2 separate regions of the Homo sapiens genome follow, and region 1 is linked to region 2. Evidence: promoter capture Hi-C in 16 types of primary human blood cells and fetal thymus (Javierre and others, 2016). All regions are on one chromosome and are shown on one strand. Each heading gives the region's core, a stretch centred on a gene start or on the middle of the fragment in contact. The rest is flanking DNA. Distances are from core to core; before and after follow the strand shown.

Evidence for each region. The method cuts DNA at HindIII sites, captures the fragments that hold promoters and counts their contacts. A CHiCAGO score of 5 or more calls a contact.
Region 1: a contact is called between the fragment with the promoter of TRAF3 here and a fragment that was not itself captured in region 2, in 1 of 17 cell types (total B cells). The highest score is 5.3, in total B cells.

What each region holds. Positions count from the first base shown.
Region 1 is chr14:102,775,583-102,779,440 of GRCh38, reverse strand. It overlaps TRAF3 (TNF receptor associated factor 3), which reads right to left and starts at 1,992. Exons shown (of 12, transcript NM_145725.3): 1 at 1,766-1,992. RefSeq lists silencers at 1,150-1,209, 1,450-1,499, 1,710-2,319, 2,410-2,469 and an enhancer at 3,180-3,419. The HindIII fragment of the contact is 6,975 bases long and covers 1-3,858 here.
Region 2 is chr14:103,092,152-103,095,725 of GRCh38, reverse strand. It overlaps EXOC3L4 (exocyst complex component 3 like 4), which reads right to left and starts at 1,001. Exons shown (of 12, transcript NM_001077594.2): 1 at 886-1,001. RefSeq lists enhancers at 423-992, 1,563-2,132. The HindIII fragment of the contact is 5,265 bases long and covers 1-3,574 here.

The DNA of each region.
Region 1 (3,858 bases), core at 743-3,242, 320 kb after region 2:
CTGTTACTGCCTGTTTCCAGTGAAATGTCTTTACAGCCTCTCACTGAGTGAAGCCATCTTATTAATTCCAAAAGAAGGGACAGCATCCAAGGAAAATAATTGGTCTTCTTTCCCCTCGCAGAGAAATTCACATGAATGTCTCAAAAAAAAAAAAAAAAAAAAAAAAAAAAAGCTGGAATTCTCCCTGGCCAGCTCTCTCTCCTTTCCTGGCTTCTGCATTGACAGCTGGAACAGATGGCGTCTGGGTGAGACACCTTACATCTTAACCCTTATCCATGATAAGGTCTGATTTTCACCAGCGATGCTGGAATCCAAGGTCTGTCAGGGTTTCCGTCATGAGCACCCACTCACAGGATTTCCAGTCCCATGTGATGTTTTCCAGTTTTCATATCGATAAGGCTTATCTTGTTTTGGCCAAAGAATTTTCATCTTTAGACTAATTCTTAACATTTACATTGTCACAACGCGGCGAAAAGGTACACATTTCCTCTCATTTGAGAAAAGAACGCTGTACACTATTTTGCCAGACATCCTACATATGATGCAGTCTGTTCACAGGCCATTTTCAAAGACGTGAGAGACATGAGAAGATCTCAGGACGAACTGATGGTCCACTTGGCCATTCCCTACAGTAAGAATTTTATAGACAAATACAGGGTAACAGCAAACAACATTTCCAAACGCTCCGGCAGTGTGTAGTCGCAGCAAATGCTAGGAAAAAAAATAAATAATGGCTCCTCTTCAGTTGTATGCCGTGAATGTAAATTAAGAAGCCGCTACAACGCTCGACATAACCTTTCTGACGCCACAAAAATGAATGAATTATATCCATACACACACACAGGCACACACACCACGCACCACGCATCACATGTCATTCTGAAAACTGATTCTGAGCTTAATTCGAAAAACGTGAAATACAACTGGTCCCGTCAACAGCTCGTAATCTGAAGGTTTCTTGCATTTCCAAGCACGTCCATAACACCTCATCCGTTTCCAGTTTGTTACTGTTTCCAACCGAAGGGAGAGAATTTTCCACACAGAATTATCTCCTCGGGTCCAAATACTAGACCGAAGTCCCCACACGGGGCTGGCTGGCGGCGTGGAACCGGCCAGCCCGCCGAGAGCCGCCTGGCGCCCGCGGGGAAGACGCAGAGCCCGCGGCCAGGAGCCGCCCGGTGCCCCGGGAGTCGCCGGCCCTCGGCGGCCGCGCGAGGGGGATTCGCGCCCTCTGCCCATACCCGGACCCCCGCGCCGCCCGCCAAGCGGTCGGAGGCGCCTCTGAGGCGGAATGACTCAGGACCAACTTTCCAATAACGCCCGGGCCCCCCCGGCCGGCCCGGGCAGCGCGCTCGGCCACGCAGCCCCTGAGCCGCCCGTCCCCCCGCGTGAAACCCGCGGCCCCGCGGGGTGCCGGGTCCTCAACGCCAGCGGGGGTCACGGCCGTAGCGAGGCCTGCGCGCCCCGTTTCCTGAAAAGGTGCGGGCGCCCCGGCCCCCTCGGGCCCCGAGCCCGGCCTCCGGGACAAAGTTTGCCGAAGTTGAGGCGTCCGGAGGCGGGAGGCAGCCCGGCTGGGGCGCGGGGCCAGGCTGAAGCCGCGCCCCGCCGTCGCCGCTGGGACGGGCCGGGCCTGCGCCGCGCCGGGCCCGCGCCGGGCAGCCCCGAGGCCCCCGGGCCCCGCCGCCCAGGGCGCGGGATGGAGGCGACGGGGATGGAGGCGCCCGGCCGCGCGCCGGAGGCCCGCCCGCCCGCCGCGGCCCCTTACCTCGCGGTCCGTCGCCGCTCGGCCGGCTCAGGGGCGCCGGGCGCGTCCTCCGCCGCGGTCCGCAGCGTTCTGCTCCCCGGGCTGCCCCATGGCGGGGGGCGGGGAAGAGCCGGCGGCCGCCGCGGCTGCCGCCGGCTGGAAAGTCCCGGCTGGGCTGCAACCCCGGCTCGCGCACGCGGCGGCCGCGCCGCGCTCCCTCGCTCCCTCGCTCCCTCACGCAGCCCCGCGCAGGCACTTCCTCTCGCGCGCTGGAAATCCCCGGCGCGCCCGCCGCCCCGCCCCCGCCGCCCGCGCGCGTGGGAGCGGCAGGAGCCCGCGAGCGCCGCCGGCCCCACGCGCCCGCCGGCCCCCCGCGCGCGCCCGCGACCCGTTGCTAAGGGCCCTAGCGCCCGGCGGCCGCCCGCCCGGCCTTAGCAACGGCGGCGCCGCGGCGCGGGGCGGGGACGGCCCCGGGCGCCCCCCGCCTCCCTCCCGTCCCCGCCGCGCGCCCCGCGGGCCTCCTCGCTCTGCGCCGCCCCCGCCGCGCCCCCGCCGCCGCGCGTCCCCGCGTCCCCGCCTTTCCGGGTCAAAAAGCCACGCAGGCCGCGTGGGGGCCGAGAGGTGCTGGCGCCGCTCCTCCCCGCGGCCACCTCGCCCGCACCCCCCACGCCAGCATAGCATACGCAGCCCCCGTGCGTGCACGCCCGTGTGCCCATGGCCACACGCGACCCCTACGCACACGCACGGGTCCGATATGCGGCCCCCCGCACTGTCGCGGACGCATACACGACGGTCACATTCCCCTCAAGCGGACACGCACACACACGCTCACCAACACCGTGCGCACGCGTACCAGGCCACGCACCCTCGCGCACACGCAGGTGGGGCTGAGGGTGACTCAGGCCGTGGAGCCCCTTTTCGCATGCAGAGGGCAGGGCTCCACATTAGTTTGGTGGCACTTTCCTTTCTCCCTCCCTTGGACCCTCCCACGCCCCCGGAGTGGTGTCTTGCTCACGGGTGGACAGGGTAGCCAGTTTGCCACGTGCCCCCAGCGTCCTCGGCGGTCCTGGCTGCCCCTGCGCCCCCTGCACCCTCCACCAGGCCGCTGGGGCCTGCGCATTTCTCCCGAGGCCTCTGCCTTCTGCCCCAAAGGCATCAGTGGTGTGTCAGTGATTCACCTAGGCCCACCAAGGCAGCACCCAGCCTGGCTGGGCCTGGCGAGGTGGGAAGCGAAGGGAGGGCTTCTGGGAGGCTCTGGGCCAGCTGAGGGGTGAGGCCTTCGCTGGAGTTTGCAAGTCAGTGGTGAGGGGACAGAAAGGACTTTGCATTTTTCACTTCTCAAGAAGGCTTATAAAGAGCCCTACCCCAGAGCTGAGACCAGTGTGAGTAGCCAAGGCCAGTCTGCCTTCTTGTATTGCTCCAGTGACTCATGTGAGTGGAGGCAGGAAGTCCAGCATCTCCTCCTACAGCTTCACCCATGGAACGTTCCAGAACCCCAGATAGTCCGACCTGGCTGCTGGAAGTCTATCTGGACATCAGAGACATTGGACCATGTCTCTGGCTCCATTAGCCCAACAGATGCTTGTTCTACAGCCACACTCACCAGGCCACAGTGGCACCCCCGTCTGCGCCACAGGCACAGCTCTTTTAGAGGTGACAGGCCCGCCTTCGCCGTCCCTCACAGGGACCTATGGACTCCAGCGGTCTCCCCCACCCCCATGGTGGACTCCCCTTGGGAGCCTCAGGTGCCCTTTCTTGCCTGTCAGGAGTTGGGATGTTACTGACCTCAGGCTCAGGGTCCCAACCACTTCCCATAGCCCAGGCACTGAGGCCTCCCATGTCCCCAGCCCTGCTTAGCCCACAGTCCTGGCACCCTGTCGACTGGGGCCCACTCCCAACGCCTGCCTTATGCTGTGTGTTACCTATGGCCTGGTTTAACTTTGCCAAAATCAGGAAAGACTCCCTTTCCTAGGCTGGACTATTTTTGGTTGTTTTAAAAGAAGCAGGACATGGACCGGGCATGGTGGCTCACACCTGTAATTGCAGCACTTTGGGAGGCCGCGGGCAGGCAAGTCACCTGAGGTCAGGAGTTCGAGACCAGCCTGGCCAACATG
Region 2 (3,574 bases), core at 1,075-3,574:
ACACTTAAAAGACTTCCCTTCACAGTAGCAACAAAGCATAAGCCCCCTGAGCCGCTGCTGCCCTCGGAAGAAGCACAGCTCCATCCTTAGCTTGGCATTCAAGGCCTCTCCTAATGACCCCTCTGGCTTCAGTCCCAACTCATTCCCTCACTCTGATCACTCAGAAGTACCCACCTCTCCTCCACACCTTTGCACAGGCCATCCTCTCTGCCTACAATGACCTCAGCCCCTCCTTCTTCAGTTGTCAACTCATTGAAGGCTCAGCAGAAATGGCTCCTCCCCCAAGAAGCCTTCCCGGACCAGCTGAGCCCATACCATGTTCGGCACCTCCTGCTGTGGGCCTGATCCCAGCCCTGGGCACACCTGCCATGACGGAGGGACAGTTACAGAGCCTGGAGACCAGGAGACCCGCAAGGCAGGGAGTGAGCCTGACTCAGCCCCCAGCCATGGCTAGTACTCGGCACTTTCCCGGGGAAACCAGGAAAGTGAATCTGATGCCTGAGCTTGAGCGCGCGGGCATATACACACTTTTCTGGGCGTCGGTTTTGCACATCTGTGTGTTGGCCTGAGAGTGTCTCCCTGTATGTGCATGACTCTGCCCTGGAGTGTCCCCAGAGGGTCTGCCAGTGCTTCTGAGTCTGTGTCTGTGCCTGCATGCCCATCTTGGTGTCTTCTGTGTCTGTCTATCTGTGCTTTCTACCTGAGTGTGTCTGCCTGTGTATCGGGTGTGTGTGTGTCCACTGTGATTTGCGCTGGCCCTCTGGCCTGGTCGGCCTGGGCTCTGAGTGAGGCCCTTGGCCTGGAAGGCCACACGCAGAGCCGGAATGGTCCTCAAGCCCGCCCACAGCACCCCATGCCCTCCTGCTCCACCTGCCCAGAACATACCTGCTGAGCACGCAGCCTTGGCCCAGGAAGAACACAGCCCCCTGAGAAGCTGGCCCGTGGGGCCCTCAGAGCCGGGCCCTGGCTATGGGGCCTCTAGAGCAGCCTGAGCGAGTGACCAACAGCTGGGACTTCCCAGCCATGGTCAGCGCCTGCCAGGCCCACCCGGCCCCACCCACAGCCCTACCCTCCACCAGGACCCCATACTTTCACTTTCAGAGAAGTTCCCACTTCCTTTTCGTTCCGGAGGCAGTCACTCCAGCTTTCCATTCCAGACAGCTCAGGGCTCAGTCCAAGGGTCAGAGAACAAGGGAGGGGAAGGCTGCGGAGCTCGGCACTCAGGGTCTCGAGGCAGCAGGGGGTGGACGCTGCCTGCCACCCAAAACACCACCAACCTCTCCTTTGCTCAGAGGCCAGCGGAAGCAGGCGCTGGCCTCGGGGGACACTCAGCCCACAGTGCCGGAGCCCAGAAGGACCCCTCCCTCCAGGACAGAGGCTCTAGCACTGGGCCAGTCCATCGAGTTCATCCCGAGACCCCTGCACCCTGCCTGTCAGGGAAGCTCACGGTGACAGCAAAGGCAGCAGTTGAGAGCCACATGCCATTCCTGGGGGCTTCAGGAGCTAGAGAAAGGGATGGGGCCCTAGGGACAGACAGGACACACTCAGAAGTGAGAAGGGACGGCATCCTGGGCAGGGGCAAAGATGTGGAGGCGGGGCCCCACTCCCCACACCAGGGGGTCAGGCGGGCAACGTGCCGCAGGGAGGGCCACTGACACTTCCCAGAAGAGGCAGCCTCACCCCTGCATAGGGGGATTCCGCAGCGAGCGTCTTAGGAAACAACTCAGGGAAAATCCAAGGAGAACGGATCCAGGCCTGTCCCAACCTGGGCTGGGGCCACCAGGGTGTGTGATGGGGCTGCTGCAGGGTGCTGAGGTGGGCAGAAATAGCCTCCTGCACCAGCATCCTCTGGCTGAGGGCAGAGGTGGCCCCGTGCAGCAGCATCCTAGGACTGAGGGCAGGGAAGGCCCCATGCACCCAGTGTCCTAGGGCTGAGGGCAGAGACAGGCCGGTGCACCAGCATCCTAGGACTGAGGGCAGGGACGGCCCCATGCACCCACTGTCCTAGGGCTGAGGGCAGAGACAGGCCAGTGCACCAGCATCCTAGGGCTGAGGGCAGGGACGGCCCCATGCATCCAGTGTCCTAGGGCTGCCACGACAGGACCAGGGACTGAGCCTCAACAACAGACGTTTATTCTCTCCCAGTTCTGGAAGCCAGAGGCCCACAGTCAAGGCATGTGTGGGGCTGGTTTCTCCTGGGGCTGTTTTCTGGGTCTGTGGGTAGCGCCCCCCCTTCTTCCTGGGTCAACACAGGGCCTTCCCACTTCGTGTCTGTGTCCATATTTCCTCTTCATATGGGTTGGGGTCCACCCGAATGACTTAATTTTAACTTATTACCTCTTTAAAGGTCACGTGTTTTTATAAGGAATTTTCCAAATAAGGTCACATTCTAAGATTGGGACTTCAACATACGAATTTTTTTTTTTTTTGGAGACGGAGTCTCTCTCTGTCACCCAGGCTGAAGTACAGTGGCGCGATCTCAGCTCACTGCAACCTCTGCCTCCTGGATTCAAGTGATTCTCCTGGATTCAAGTGATTCTCCTGCCTCAGCCTCCTGAGTAGCTGTGATTACAGGCACGCACCACCACACCCGGCTAATTTTTGTATTTTTAGTAGAGTCGGGGTTTCACCATGTTGGCCAGGCTGGTCTTGAACTCCTGACCTCAGGTGATTGGACTGCCTAGGCCTCCCAAAGTGCTGGGATTACAGGCGTGAGCCACCGCGCCCAGCCCAACATACGAATTTTATGGGGGAAAAGCAGCCCATAACAGACTGGAAGGTGCCTGAGATGCTGCAGCACCATCTGCAGAGGGGCCAAATTAGACTCAAAGATGCCAGCACCTCCTCCAGGAAGCCCTCCAATTAACCACTTGAGTCACTACCCTGAGCCCTGGGTTCCCTCTGTGAAGTGGGGTGCTAAGAGTCCCACTTCAAGCCCGAGAGGTGCCCAGCAGCCCATAGGCCCTTCCTCCCAGCCCAGTCCCACCTGCTGGCCTGAGTCCCACCCCACCTGTCTCCAACAGGCAGAGATGAGGGGTAACAGGGAATAAGCAAAACTGAGCAGAGACAGCCGGGGTCCAAGGTGGCTGGCTCCCCAGGGCTCAGTGACCTGCTCTCGGCCACACAGGTGCCCAGAGAGGCCAGGACTGCGACCTAGGTCTCTGGCTCTGTGGACTGGGTCTTCCCATACAGCCAGGCCTTGGTGGACTGGAGACTTCCCGGTCTAATTCTCCCACCCGCCCCCCAGCTCCCAGGGCATGTTGGGGTCCTGGGACCTCCAATTATGGGTCGCTCCATTCAATACACAGGTGCCTGAAAAGCTGGTGGTGCCCAGGGCCTGGGGACTGCTCCTGGAAGTCCCCTCAACTCCCATCTGCTCTCCACAGGCACCTGAGCCTGTGCCCGCTTTTCAGCATGAGGTTGCAATGTTTCTTTCATGCTATGTCCATGTTTTCCCGAAGTTTCTCAGTAAAATCCCTTTGGAAAAACCCCAGCCTTATCTCAAAGAAGCCTGGGTCACGAGGTTGGTCTGGGGTCAGGAGAAGGCCGGGTGGGGAGCCGTTAGGAGGGAGAG